3 separate regions of the Homo sapiens genome follow, and all the other regions are linked to region 3. Evidence: promoter capture Hi-C in 16 types of primary human blood cells and fetal thymus (Javierre and others, 2016). All regions are on one chromosome and are shown on one strand. Each heading gives the region's core, a stretch centred on a gene start or on the middle of the fragment in contact. The rest is flanking DNA. Distances are from core to core; before and after follow the strand shown. Region 1 overlaps CAND2 (cullin associated and neddylation dissociated 2 (putative)). Region 2 holds the start of MKRN2 (makorin ring finger protein 2). Region 3 holds the start of TMEM43 (transmembrane protein 43).

Region 1 (4,522 bases), core at 1,446-3,945, 1.3 Mb after region 3:
TCTGAATGACAGACAGGACCACAGGCATAGGAGGAAAGAAGCTATCAAGTCCACCCCCATTGAGACATCTTGCTCCCCTGCCAGTGCCTGCCATTCCACCATCAGAGCTTTCCTCTGCTGGGTTAAAGACATTATCTCCTGAAAGCCATTCATAAAAGGGTACACGGTGGCAGTGCAGAGGTGGGGGAGCCTGACAGACCTGGCTCTAAGGCCCAGCTATGCCAATTCCTAGTTGTGTTATCTCAGGCCACTCTCTTCTCAGTATGTGTCCTTGTCTGAAACACGTGGGTAATAATTTCTGTTTTTTTAGGGTTATTGTGAGGAACACAACTAGTAGATGCTCAATAAATGACAGCAATGACTACTATCATTACTGTGGTCTGTGCAGTCACAGCGGGTGGGACTGGAGCTTGAGAAAGAGCTGGCATCAGGACAGGGGCACCAAATGTGACCGCTGTCTTTGGTTGGGGGATCCCAGGAAGGCTGTGTTCACCTCCACCCTCCAACCCCAATGATGGGCTGTCCACCAACCTTGCTCACTGAATTCACTATCCTCTGTCTCCATCTGCTCCTCATCCTCATCACTGTCGTAGTTGTAGTTGGGGTCGTGTTTTATGTATTGGAGGCAGAGGCTGGTCACGTTGGGCACGTGAGGACCCATTTCCTTGGGGCACCTGTGGGGCAGGATGAGGAATGCTTTGCTGGATCCAGCCAGGACAGGAGTGGGGGACAGGGCCCAATGGGAGTCCTGAAATTTTACTGCTTTGGGCCAGCATCCCCACCAACTTCCCAAAGGGATCCCCAGGCAACCCCACCATACATACTTCCTCAAGAAGGCCTCAAAAGCCTGGAGGCAGGACTCCCGGAGCTCATCATCATCCAGGTTGCAGAAATCCTCCACCAGGGGCACCAGGCGGTCCAGGTGAGCCCCTGCAGGGCCAGGTGGATCACTGAACCCAAGCCAGACACTCTCCCGGAGTTCCCCCAGCCCACAGCACTCAGACTGTCTATGCACCTGCAGCCCTGACCACTGTAGATTCAACTCAGAGGTTTCATAGTCAAGCAAATGTGGGTTCTAGCCCTGACTCTGCCACCCAACTGCTATGGGACCTTGGGCAGGTCACAACATTTCTTTGACCTTAGTCAGCTAATCTTCACAACAAGGATAACAGTGCCTCCTGGGCAGAGATTTTGTGAAGATAAATTATATAATGATAAATAGCTTAGGCCAGGCGCGCCTGTAATCCCAGCACTATGGGAGGCCGAGGCGGGTGGATCATGAGGTCAGGAGATCGAGACTATCCTGGCTAACAAGGTGAAACCCCGTCTCTACTAAAAATACAAAAAATTAGCCGGGCGCGGTGGCGGGCGCCTGTAGTCCCAGCTACTCAGGAGGCTGAGGCAGGAGAATGGCGTGAACCCGGGAAGCGGAGCTTGCAGTGAGCCGAGATTGCGCCACTGCAGTCCGCAGTCTGGCCTGGGCGACAGAGCGAGACTCCGTCTCAAAAAAAAAAAAAAAAAAAAAAAAATTAGCCGGGCACGGTGGCACACACCTGTAGTCCCAGCTATTCAGGAGGCTGAGGCAGGAGAATTGCTTGAACCTGGGAGGTGGAGGTTGCAGTGAGACAAGATAGCGTCACCGTACTCCAGCCTGGGGGACAGAGCGAGATTCTATCTCCAAAAAAAAAAAAAAAAAAAGATAAACAGCTTAGGCCGGGCATGGTGGCTCACACCTGTAATCCCAGCACTTTGGGAGGCCAAGGCAGATGGATCATCTGAGGTCAGGAGTTCGAGACCAGCTTGGCCAACATGGTGAAACTCCATCTCTACTAAAAATACAAAAATTAGCTGCACGTGGCAGTGCGCCCCTGTAATCCCAGCTACTTGGGAGGCTGAGGCAGAATTGCTTGAACCTGGGAGGTGGAGGTTACAGTGAGCAGAGATCGTGCCACTACACTCCAGCCTGGGAAACAGAGCAAGACACGAGACTCAGTCTCAAAAAGAAAAAAAAAAAAGAAGTTAAAAAAGCTTAGTCCAAGGTTGGGTGCAGTGGCTCACCCCTGTAATCCCAGCACTTTGGGAGGCCGAGGCGGGCAGATCATGGGATCACAAGGTCAGGGGTTCAAGACCAACCTGGCCAACCAACATAGTTAAACCCCGTCTCTACTAAAAATACAAAAATTAGCTGGGTATGGTAGCGTGCGCCTGTAGTGCCAGCTACTCAGGAGGCTGAGACAGGAGAATCACTTGAATCCGGGAGGCGGAGGTTGCGGTGAGCCGAGACTGCACCATTGCACTCCAGCCTGGGCAACAGAGCGAGACTCCGTCTCAAAAAAATAAATAAAAAAGCTTAGTCCAGGTTCTACACGAGCAGGCACTCGATAAATAGCATCTGTTATCAAAACCATTATTCATGTCCTGGCCTAATTTCCTTCACTAGGTTTAAGTCCTTGGATAGGAGAAAGGGAGGCAGGTACTGCCCTAATAGACCAGGCAAGAGGGGTTCCTGCCTGGTCTCCAGGCTTTAGAGCACTCCACTCAAGCCCTTCTCCAGCCATACCCTTCCCTACAGCATAAGAAGAGACATGCTGACCTAGAGACCCCCAACACTCCTAGACTCCATTCTGTCTGGGTATCTGGGGACCCGAGTTTCCTGCCCAATGGATCCTGACCCCTTGTCCGAGCCTGCGCAGGCCTCTTTCCTAGGTCCATGCAACCAAGGATGGCTGAGGGCTGGCTGCTGTTTGGGAGAAATGGGACAGGGTGTGGCCATGTCAGCTGGGGTTCCCCCCCCCACCCCCCGCCGTGTGCCTGCAAGGCCCCTTGCAGTGAGAGAGCCAGGGGTTGGGAGGGGCTGACCATATGCCAGTTCTATCCAAACTGTCTTGGTATAGTCAGAACTCCAAGGTGTCTGAGGATACATTCAAACCTGATTGCAGCTTTCCATTTCTAAAAAACTAATCTATAGTGACAGAAAGCAGATCAGTGGCTTCCTGGACAAGGCAGAGAGCTGGACTGCAAACGGACACAAGGAAGCTTTTGGGGGTGATGGAAAGGTTTCACGGATATACACAAAGGTCAAAACACACTGAATTGCACACTTTAAATAGTGCGGTTTATTGTATGCACATTAAATTGTTTCTTAAAAATTCAAACTTGGCTCATGGGCTGTTACTAAGATATCTTTGTCAAACTGGGAGAAGAGAACATAGTCTAACAGTTTAGTGGCATGACTTAAAATTGTAATTACCAGCCAGCCTCCACGTCTCATAAGTGATTGAACCAACCCCCTTCTCTGAACCGTCTGCACTCAGCAGGGGCTCAGGCCTGGGGGTTTGTCGAGCTCAGGGCCCGCCCTGCGCCTCTCAAGCCCTATCCGGCCCCAACCTCTGCGTTTCAGGGGCTTCAGCCGCCCGCCCCAGGCCCCACCCACCACATCAGCCCAGGCCCCGCCCCATCCTCCCTACCAAGGCAGACGGCCCACCCTTAGGCCCTGGCTGCACTGCGGCCCAAGCTCCGCCCCTTTACCGAGTCATTGGCTCACCCTAAGCTCCGCCCACCATGCCAGCCCAGGCCCCGCCCCCTGCCCCCTTACCGAGGCGGTGGCCGGCCTGGCGGCCGACGCTGCCCAAACATTGGATCAGGGTGCGGATGGCAGTCGGGCTGGTGGGCACCCGCGGGCCGGGCAGCCGGTCCAGTAGGTGGTCAGCGAGCTCGACGAAGAGGTCGGTGCTGCAGGCGGCCGCCAGGTGGCCAAGCGCTCCGACCGCCCGCTTGCGCACCGCCAGGCGCGGGCTGCTCAGCTGTGGCAGCAGACAGTGCAGGAGGCTGGCGTGGAAGGCGCCCAGCGGGACACCCAGCCTGGGGAGCACGAGGGGGCATCAGGCCGATCGCACTCCGCGGGCAACCTGGGCCAGGCTCCGCCCCTCTCCCCATTCTCTCCCGGCCTCCTTCCCAGGATTATGGCAACTCAATGGCCCTTGCAAAAGAGGTGCCCTGCAACTGTGAGGAGGAATTATTTTAATTACTTTTGTTACATGAGAGAAAGCGGAGAGAGAAAGGGACTTCTCAGCAGTGCAAAGCCTGGCTCCCAGCCTAGGGAGAAAGACCTGATAGGGGAAAGCATAGAGGATCTAGTAAGGCTGTCCCTATTTCTTGGAAGTCTAGGCCTTGCCTCAATACCATCCCCTTCTGTCCATCCTCCTCGCTGAGACCAGAGCAGTATAAAGTCTACTTCTCACCTGGTCACTCCTCTGCTTAACTCCTTCCATGGCTCCCTAGTGCCTTTGGAGATGCTGAGCTCTGGGCTCAAGACAAGAGGCAACACCAGACAATGGTTTCTGCGCACACAGCACAGCTCCTGCCTGCCTCAGCAGCTTCTATCCACACCTTCAAACGAGGCCCGTGCATTTTCTGTCCTGTAAACATCTTGAGACCTTTTCTTTCTCACTTTACAGAAACACGCTGACCTTACCCTCCCTTATTTCTATGTCCTACCCAACCCCCTCTCCTAGGTTTCATT
Region 2 (4,492 bases), core at 1,595-4,094, 1.6 Mb after region 3:
CTAGGTTTGACTATCTTAGGACAATGAAATCCTGTGTCTTCTAATAGTGATTATGAGATGCAGGGAAGCTCTATCACAAGAGGAGAAGGTGAAATAAACTGGTTACTAAGCTATAATAAGGGCCTCCCCCAGGGCTCCGAAAACAGACTGGAAGACAGGGAGATGGTTGTGGGGGAGGGGAATCAGCAAAAAGGCACAGATTGAGATTCTGGATAGAGCGGCATGTCAAGGAATCAGAAGAGCTGACTGACAGCATAACTGTACGAGCAGTCATTTTTACCACTCCAGGCAATAAAAACATGGAGTGTCTTTGTCATTAGGTTTGAGACTCCTAGCATTTGATAAGCAACTCTTGGAGATACATAATATCTAACAGATTGGAAGCAAAACTGACATTATTCTGCTGTCATTCAAAATAAACATGTACATCACATCCCACAGTCAGGAAAACAAACCTAAAACTTTGTGACCTGAGATTAAAAAAAACAAAAAAACAAACAAAACCCACAAAAAACCGCACACGCTGCTTAGATCTGGTCCCCAAAATAAATCATACCTTGAACATTTCCTATAAATTATCAATGTCTAGAGACAAGGCTTTTGTTAATGAGATAATAAAGTGAGAAAAGCTTTTGGTAGATAAGCTGGTAGAAAAGTTGATGGTAGATAAACACACTAATGTAAACTTGGTACTCTTGGTCATATTGGTTTTTTCCCACTTAAAACACCTGTTATGTTTTTTATTTGGCAAGGCAGTCATCGGGAGCCCTGACTCCTTTACACCCTTTTGTGAGTAAACTTCTTTGCAGTTTTACATATCCTTGTATGAGTTTCCTTTCATGGGAACACATTAAAAGCTTTGATAAGTCCTGCAATAAATAAATTTTAATTTAGCATTTCAAAACTTATCTGGAGGCCCTACAGTCTATGAGGGCATGAACTTTGATTTCACACCTCTGTCACTTGGAAGCTAAATGACCTTAGGCAAGTCGCTTCAATGCTGAGGCTCAGTTTTACGATCTGTGGAAGAGCGCTGGTTGCTGGATTATACACTACAGTACCTAAGAGCCGCAGCACATTGTAAGTCCCCAACAAACATGACTAAACACTTAAACAGAAGTGATCCCTTCTCAACATTCCAACCCAATCTTCATTTATATGGAGCAACATCCTACAGAACACCCCTGTTTGGGAAACAGAATTAAAGCTTTCAAGTCAAGCTATCTCCAGGTATACAAGGAAAAAACCAAGATGATCCTGATTTAGGTCCTTGTGCCTCTACTAAGGTGTAAAATTTTAGGCAAATTTCAAGTCTTTCTGAGCATAAGATTCCTTATTTGTAAAATAAGATACTACAGAGTTGAGATTCAATTATAAAGCATTATTACATAAATGTGTACTGTTTTGTGGACACTTCTTAGATGAGGTACGGGAATAAATGGTAGAATTAAACCATAGAGCGAGGGGAGGAATACAGAGGTTTTTCTAGGAGGCTACAAGCTGCTTTACAGTGCACAATGACCTAGGAATACTTCCTCCAGCAGGAGAAACTTTATACAAATAAAAATACGTAAACACACACAAACCCGTCTTCACAAAACACCTTCTAGTACAAATAACCTAGTAAAAGTCTTTTTATAGACACTAGGTGCAAATTTCTGACAACAGCTTAACATAAGCCACCTGGGCCTTGGATAAATTGAACAGTAAATGTACACTAATGCTAACAGAAAACTTACTACACAGTCACGTCTCAACTATTCATACCAATGAAGAGAAGTAACAACATAGAAAATAAACTGTTTATTACACAAACTCTATAACTGTTTTTAAGCAATGTTTCCCATAAAAATTATTAAATGAAATTTGCATTTTCCAAGCATACAATTCAATTTGCGTTTTCCAAACATACAATTCAATAGGACTAGACTCCATTACCAGTAAGCCACAAGCTGACCAAGCAATGAGGGTGTTACACAACCACACTATTCTATTTCATAGGAGCAGTCGTAGTGTAGCTATCTGGCTATTTTCTACAATAAACCATCCATTACCGTCGCATTTCTCCTCGTAAATGGCTCTCTCAGTAAGATAAATGAGTGTCAACGTCTTTCGGTCTCAGTTTCCTGCACTGTAAAATGGTAATAATAACTACTAAGTTGTCTTACTGTGAAGTCTGATGATAATGAATATAAAGGACTTGGAAATATGCAGGGCGCTTCGCCGATATTCACAATATGCTACCTGTCGTTATTTTCCACACAACAACTTTTACTTGTTAACTCTCTGCAAGTTTAGATTGCATCTGGATTCTCCAAACTTTGAGGCCCTCATAATCGATTAACAAATTACTCCTATGTGGTATCCCCATTTGTAACCGTCCTCTCGGCGTCCCTTTACTCAACTTCAAATCTTTTCCAGTTAAAGCGTAAGCCCCAGAGCCTTCCCGACAGCGCCCCGGCATCCTGCACGGCCCTGGCTAGGACGTCCTTCCTCCCAGCCCACAGGGGCCACGCTTCAAACTCGGGGCGTAGCCCCCCGCGCTGGCCTCGCCCAGCGTCTCGGCCACGCATCCCCCGGATCCCCGGCTGTGGCGGCAGCGCTCGCTCTGCCTCGCAAAGCCCCGCCGCGAACAGCCGAGTAACTTTCCGAGTCCCGCTCTAGCCTCAGGTTCCCGGACCACAGCACTGGCGCGCACCGGCCCCCCTGCGGCCTGGGGGAGCGGCCCGAAGCTCCTGGCTCCAGCGCACTGACCTGCAAGTGATCTGCTTGGTGCTCATGGTGGCTGGGCTGAGGGACCGTCGTCGTGCCGCCGCCTCTCGCAGCCGCTGCCGCCTCGGCCTTGGCCCTGGCCCGGCCCATCCCGCGTAGCCGCGTCACGCCGGCGCACGCCGGCGCACGCCGCCCCTCCGGTGTGGCACCTTTGTAGCGCCGGCGGGTAACCTAGCCGTCGTCACAATTGGTTCCGCACCGGGGATCGGGCCGGCTGTCCCGGCATCCCTGCTCTCGGTGTCCCGCACTTCCAAGCCTCCGGGGCGGAGCCTGGCTGGCATCTTAGTCCTGCCAGTCTTATCCCGATGCCTACTGTTAGTGCCTGCGATTCTGCCCCGATCGCCAAGAGTATTCCTTAGGGATCTCCCGCCTCCTTCGAGGCACTTCACCACTCCTGGGGAAACTCCAGCCTCTCCTCTTAATCCCGGATGCCCCTATCCATTCATACTCGCACTCACTGGGCACCCTTCTCAGGCCCTGCCTCAACTGTTCCCGCCGGACCTCGCCTCCCACTTAAGGAAATTCCTTAGCTCTCTCCCAACTGCTCTTTCCCCAAATCTCTACTTCCACAAGTTTTAGTCTTCATTTTCTTTCCTGCCAGTCTTGTGCTGCTCGTCTTCCATTTCCTATGGTGGAAACCCCAAAAGTTATTTTTGACACTTCCCTCTAGCTCTCTATACCCTGCAGATTCTGCTCCCACACCTCTGTCCAATGCGTCCTCTTCTGCCCCCTTTCCACCGTCCCTTCTACCTAGCACCATGCGATACCTTTTTTTTTAATTATTATTATTTTATTTTTTATTTTTTTGAGACGGAGTTTCTCTCTTGTTGCCCAGGCTGGAGTGCAGTGGGGCGATCTCGGCTCACTGCAACCTCCGCCTCCCGGGTTCAAGCGATTCTCCTGCCTCTCAGCCTTCCACGTAGCTGGAATTACAGGCGTGCACGCCTGGCCAGCCATGCGATAGCCTTTTAACTGGTCTTCTGGCTTCCGTTCCTGGTAAAAATCTATTTTTAAAACATAAATCGGATCATGTCATTCACCTTTTAATCTTACAATGGTTTCTCATTGCTTAAAAACTCGAGATACATAACATGCACAATATAAGTGCACCAAACACATTCTATGAATTTTTGCACATGCATACACTCATGAAACTACCACCCAGATCAAAATAAAGAATTTTTTGTTTTGTTTTGAGGCAGGGTCTTGCTCTGTCGCCCAGGCTGGAGTGCAGTGGCGCCATCATAGTTCAAGCAGTCCTCTGCCTTAACCTCCCCAGCAGCTGGGAATACAGGTGCGCGACACCATGCTCGACTAAACTTCAAAATGCTGGAGTAAGGAGAGGTTGAGCCGGAAGGATCCTTTGAGCATAGTTCACTGCAGTCGAGGCTGCAGGGGGTGGGTGGGGGCTGGATATTATCGACACCCCAGAAGGGCTTCCTTATGGTCCTTCCCAGGCAATACTTTACAAAGGTCATTGCTTGGGTTCATCTCTATCACTATAAATTAGTTTAACTGTTCTTGACTTTCATATAAATAATAATTCAGTACCTACGCTTTTGTCTGCCTTCTTTTGACCAACATTTTATCTGTGAGATCTTTCCATGTTATGTATGTATAGCTGTATGTTCTTTTTTTACTTTGCTATAAAAATATTGAGTCTTCCAATGAATGAGCATGGTATATACTTCCAATTATTTAGAACTTTTGAAATTTTTCT
Region 3 (3,761 bases), core at 1-2,500:
CGCCTGGCCGAGCCTGAGTCTCTCCGAATACCTCTGAGGCTTTTCTAGGTACAACATTCAAGGCTTCTAACCCTCCTGTGGGCCCGAAATGTCCTGGGAGTGTGGATGATACTAACCCGAGACAAAGTGTACTAGGGCTGTGGGTGATGCACACCCTGGCCTCTCAAGGGGTGTGGGAGGCAGAGAGGACGCTTGGGGACAGAGGCGGTGTCTGGAAATAGGGTGTGACAGGCAAGGGGAGAGCTGCTAGGACACTCTACCAAAGCAGGAGGGAGGGTGTGTCTGGGGCTGGCTGGGCTCCTAAGCGGGCCCTAGAAGCACTTTCACAGAGGAGGGGAGAGGTGAGTCACCAGCTTCTCCCACACCCAGCGCCCTGGTAGGAGGCGCTGCTTGTTGAATGAATGTTGGGCTTAAATAGTTTCCCGAGAAAGGCTAGTTGCAGGGAGAAGAGGCCTTGAGGGAACAGCCCTCAGCCAGGCCTCCTCCAACCAAATCCTTGCTAGGGGGAGGAGGGGCCCCGACAGTAGAGAAATGCTCCCTCTCCCCCAACTCCTTCGCTCCCAGCCCAGCCTAAGCTTTTTGGAGCATCACAGACTCGGTTTACAGAGACTCCCTAGGGCGGAGAGCTCTCTGCCCGCCTGGACAGCCCTGTCTGTCCATTGCTGGACAGCTCCACTTGGGCTGGATCGCCTTCCTCCCTCCCAAGGGACTGGCGCCCTCTCTGAGGTCGCGTCCAGCTCTCATAATGCGCAAGTTTCAGGGCCCCAAGGTACAGGAGGGAACTGGGAATGCAAGGAGGGGCCGCGGAGAGGCGTACAAGCAGATCCCAGTACGGGAGCAACACCTCCGAGTCCGCCTCCGCACGAACGCCGAGGACGAGGCGAGCCAAGGAACACGGACAAAAGAAGCCTGGACAGGCCGCGAGATGAGCAGAGGGATGAGCTGGCGAAGGCACAGACACGGCGAGCAGAGGGAGATGCGGGCCTAGCCGCACGGAGGAGCTCCAGGCGGCGAAATGGACCTAGAGGACCCCGGGGAAAAGCCCCAGGGCGACGGGGAAGCCTGGGTGTGGCCCGGCTGGCCCGGGGATACTCACATTCGCGGCCATGGTGGGACCCGGCTCGCTGCCGCCGCCTCGCGCTGTTCAGCTAGGAAGTGGGCTGACGACTGGAGCGTGGTGTCCAGCGGCCTCTTGCCAGCCCCAGCTTCGAAAATCCGCGTGGACTCCAGGGCCAAGCGGGACTTACTGCAGTTACCTCCCCCTGTGCCCAGTGTTTCTGCGCATGCGCGCGGCGAGACGTCCTGGAAACTATACGGTCCGGGACATTGCAGTACCTCATTGATGCGCCTGCGCACTGCAAAGCTTTCGGGGAAATGTAGTTTCTACTGCCTGGAGAGCTGTCGAGGAGCGCGCGACCTGCTGGGAAATGTAGTTTCCGGCTGAGGTTGGCCTGGCCGCGGTTGCGAGGGCGCCGAGGCAGGCGCGCGGCGGGCAGGCCTGGGAGGGGGCGGGTCCGCGCGGGCTTCGGAGGAGCCCGCCCTGCCAGAGGAGAGGGAGGTCACGGCGTAAAGGTGCAGCTGCCGCCACCGCCGCTTCTGCAAGGTCTCAGGGACGGGCTGCAGCCATGTCCTATTGCCGGCAGGAAGGTAGGGAGGGCGGGCTGCCACGGAGACCGGCCTACGAGGGCCTGCGGGAGACACGCGGGCCCCGGCGCCCCGCGACCACGCCGGGCGCGGGCCACCTGAGGCGCGGCCCAGGTGCCCACCCTGGGACACTCGGAGGCGGGCCGGCTGGGGGGTCGCTACTCCTGTTTTGCGGATGAGAAAACCGAAGCTCTGGGGGGAACGGGGCTGGTCCAAGGTCACAGTGAAGCCCGAACCCTGACCTCAGAGGGGCCTGTGCGTAGGAAGTCGTAAACTAGGTCCGGTTGGGGCACGGGAAGTGCCGAGCACGTTGCGTGTGGCTCGAAACTGGGAATGTATGGTGGTTAATTATCACTACCGCTCCTGCCATACCCCACGTGTTTACATTTTGCACGCGCCTTTAAAAGGCGCGTCCCGAAAAGTTGCCACTCGGGGTAGCGTGTGCTGTGCTGGAGTGCTAGGAGTTCCACTAACGGGAATGTTTTTGAGCCCCCTGCTACCTGTCAGGCACTGTTCAAGGAAACTTGCCTGGCTTGTCTCACAGATCTCGCTGCGACCTTTGTAAGTCAGGCTCTGTTGTTGGTCACATTTTACTGAAGAGTAAAGTTAGACACAGGAGACATGGCTAAAGCCACTCAGCCAGCAAATCGTGGAGCTGGGGTTTGAGCCTGGGCATTGTGACCCCAGAAGAGCCTTATCCAATCTAGTGCCCAGTGGATTGCAGGGAGAACCCTGCCTACCTCCCACCCCAAAGTTGAGCTCCGACCACCTACTGCTTCCTTGATGTTACTCTACCCAAGAGCTCAGAAGTACCCGAGCCACAGGTCGGAGGGCCTCCCCACACACTGCCACAAACTGGCTCCTTGGCCCTGAGCTCCCACCTAACCCCTCCAGGCCCTGGTATCCAGTGTTGTAAAATGAGATGTTGGGCTTCATTGATACGGCAAATACTCATGAAGCACCTTCTCTGCGCCAGAGAAGGGGGATGGATGGTTATAAAACTACAGAGAGAGTTGGAAGTCCCCCAGAAATTCTTTGGTGAATACTCCAGCTCCGTCAGTTAATTCAAGCAATCTGAAGCCCAGAGAAGGAGGTGGCCTACCTGTAGTTACACATCCAGTTAGGAGACTAGCTCAGCCTAAAATTCTGAGCCTTTTCCCTGGTGGCGCTGTCTGCTTCTAGAACCTCTCCTCCTCTGGGTCGTAAAGCCATAAGACTCACTCTTTAATGAGTACTATTATATTTCCGCTGATTACTACTTAATGTGTGCCATAAGCAAAAGTCCTCTGCCCTCACCACTCTTGTTTTTAATTTCGAGTCTTTCTCTAATTTACTTCATTTAGCAAATAATTTTTGAGCCTTTGGGTATAATGAGGCTGTGCTGATAAACAAGACCCTCCTCTTTGAGGATTTACAGGAGGCAGTTTTCTCTGGAAAGGGGAGGCTAGGTCCATCTGCCTCCAAAACATGGAGCCCTATCTTTTCCTGCTTCAAAGATCTCTCTTAGTTCGGAGAGGAGTGAGAATTGAAAGCACTCACTTATAGGCCTTCCTTAGTATTTATCTTGTGCATACCACTGTCCCCGTAAGAAGTCCCTAACTTCCCCCCCTCCGCCCCCCACTGATCCTTTATGCTTCCCATAGGATTTTTAAAAAATGATCCCAAACTGCTTACTGTATCAGAGCTTATGTGATCTGGCCCTGTCTGCCTTTCCAGCCTGGTCTCTTCCCACCCTTTTGCTGCCCAGCCTCTAGCCTCTTGGCTATTCCCTTGGTTTGGTATATCCTGCCTTCAGCTCTTCCGTGGCTGACTCCTCATCCTTTAACATTTAGCTCCAATATCACCTCCTGACCCTTTGTGTCTTTCACATCCTGAACTGTCTGAAATGACCTTTTTTATTTTTTGCCATCTTACTTCCTGCCTGTCTTCTCGCACTAAGCTGAGAGCATCAGATGGGCTGTGGAATCCCCAGCATCTAGCACAGGGCTTGGTGTACAATGGGTGCCCACATCTTTATTGAATCATGCATTTACCTGCCCTCTGTTCTGAGTGAATCACTTGCCTGTACAAGTTTATTTCAGGGGTCCACCTGCTACCCAGCCTTCAGGTTAAACTCG

Evidence for each region. The method cuts DNA at HindIII sites, captures the fragments that hold promoters and counts their contacts. A CHiCAGO score of 5 or more calls a contact.
Region 1: a fragment that was not itself captured here is called in contact with the fragment with the promoter of TMEM43 in region 3 in 1 of 17 cell types (fetal thymus); the score reaches 8.0 in fetal thymus.
Region 2: the fragment with the promoter of MKRN2 here is called in contact with the fragment with the promoter of TMEM43 in region 3 in 2 of 17 cell types (total B cells and fetal thymus); the score reaches 8.1 in total B cells.

The regions. Positions count from the first base shown.
Region 1 is chr3:12,809,398-12,813,919 of GRCh38, reverse strand. CAND2 (cullin associated and neddylation dissociated 2 (putative)) reads right to left here. Exons shown (of 15, transcript NM_001162499.2): 5 at 3,596-3,861; 6 at 825-930; 7 at 532-674. Among named protein-coding and RNA genes, the nearest start is that of CAND2, 15 kb to the right of the region's middle. RefSeq lists silencers at 1-38, 3,384-3,833. The HindIII fragment of the contact is 687 bases long and covers 2,352-3,038 here.
Region 2 is chr3:12,555,439-12,559,930 of GRCh38, reverse strand. It overlaps MKRN2 (makorin ring finger protein 2), which reads right to left and starts at 2,844. Exons shown (of 8, transcript NM_014160.5): 1 at 2,755-2,844. The coding sequence starts at 2,780. It also overlaps a transcript of MKRN2OS not described here. RefSeq lists enhancers at 2,125-2,184, 2,094-2,617, 3,005-3,064, 3,115-3,224 and a silencer at 2,745-2,834. The HindIII fragment of the contact is 4,764 bases long and covers 1,210-4,492 here.
Region 3 is chr3:14,122,541-14,126,301 of GRCh38, reverse strand. It overlaps TMEM43 (transmembrane protein 43), which reads right to left and starts at 1,250. Exons shown (of 12, transcript NM_024334.3): 1 at 1,097-1,250. The coding sequence starts at 1,108. CHCHD4 (coiled-coil-helix-coiled-coil-helix domain containing 4) reads left to right here and starts at 1,432. Exons shown (of 3, transcript NM_001098502.2): 1 at 1,432-1,647. The coding sequence starts at 1,626. RefSeq lists enhancers at 616-905, 338-1,072, 1,006-1,205, 1,073-1,807, 2,576-2,675 and 1 more and silencers at 1,396-1,955, 1,966-2,015. The HindIII fragment of the contact is 788 bases long and covers 578-1,365 here.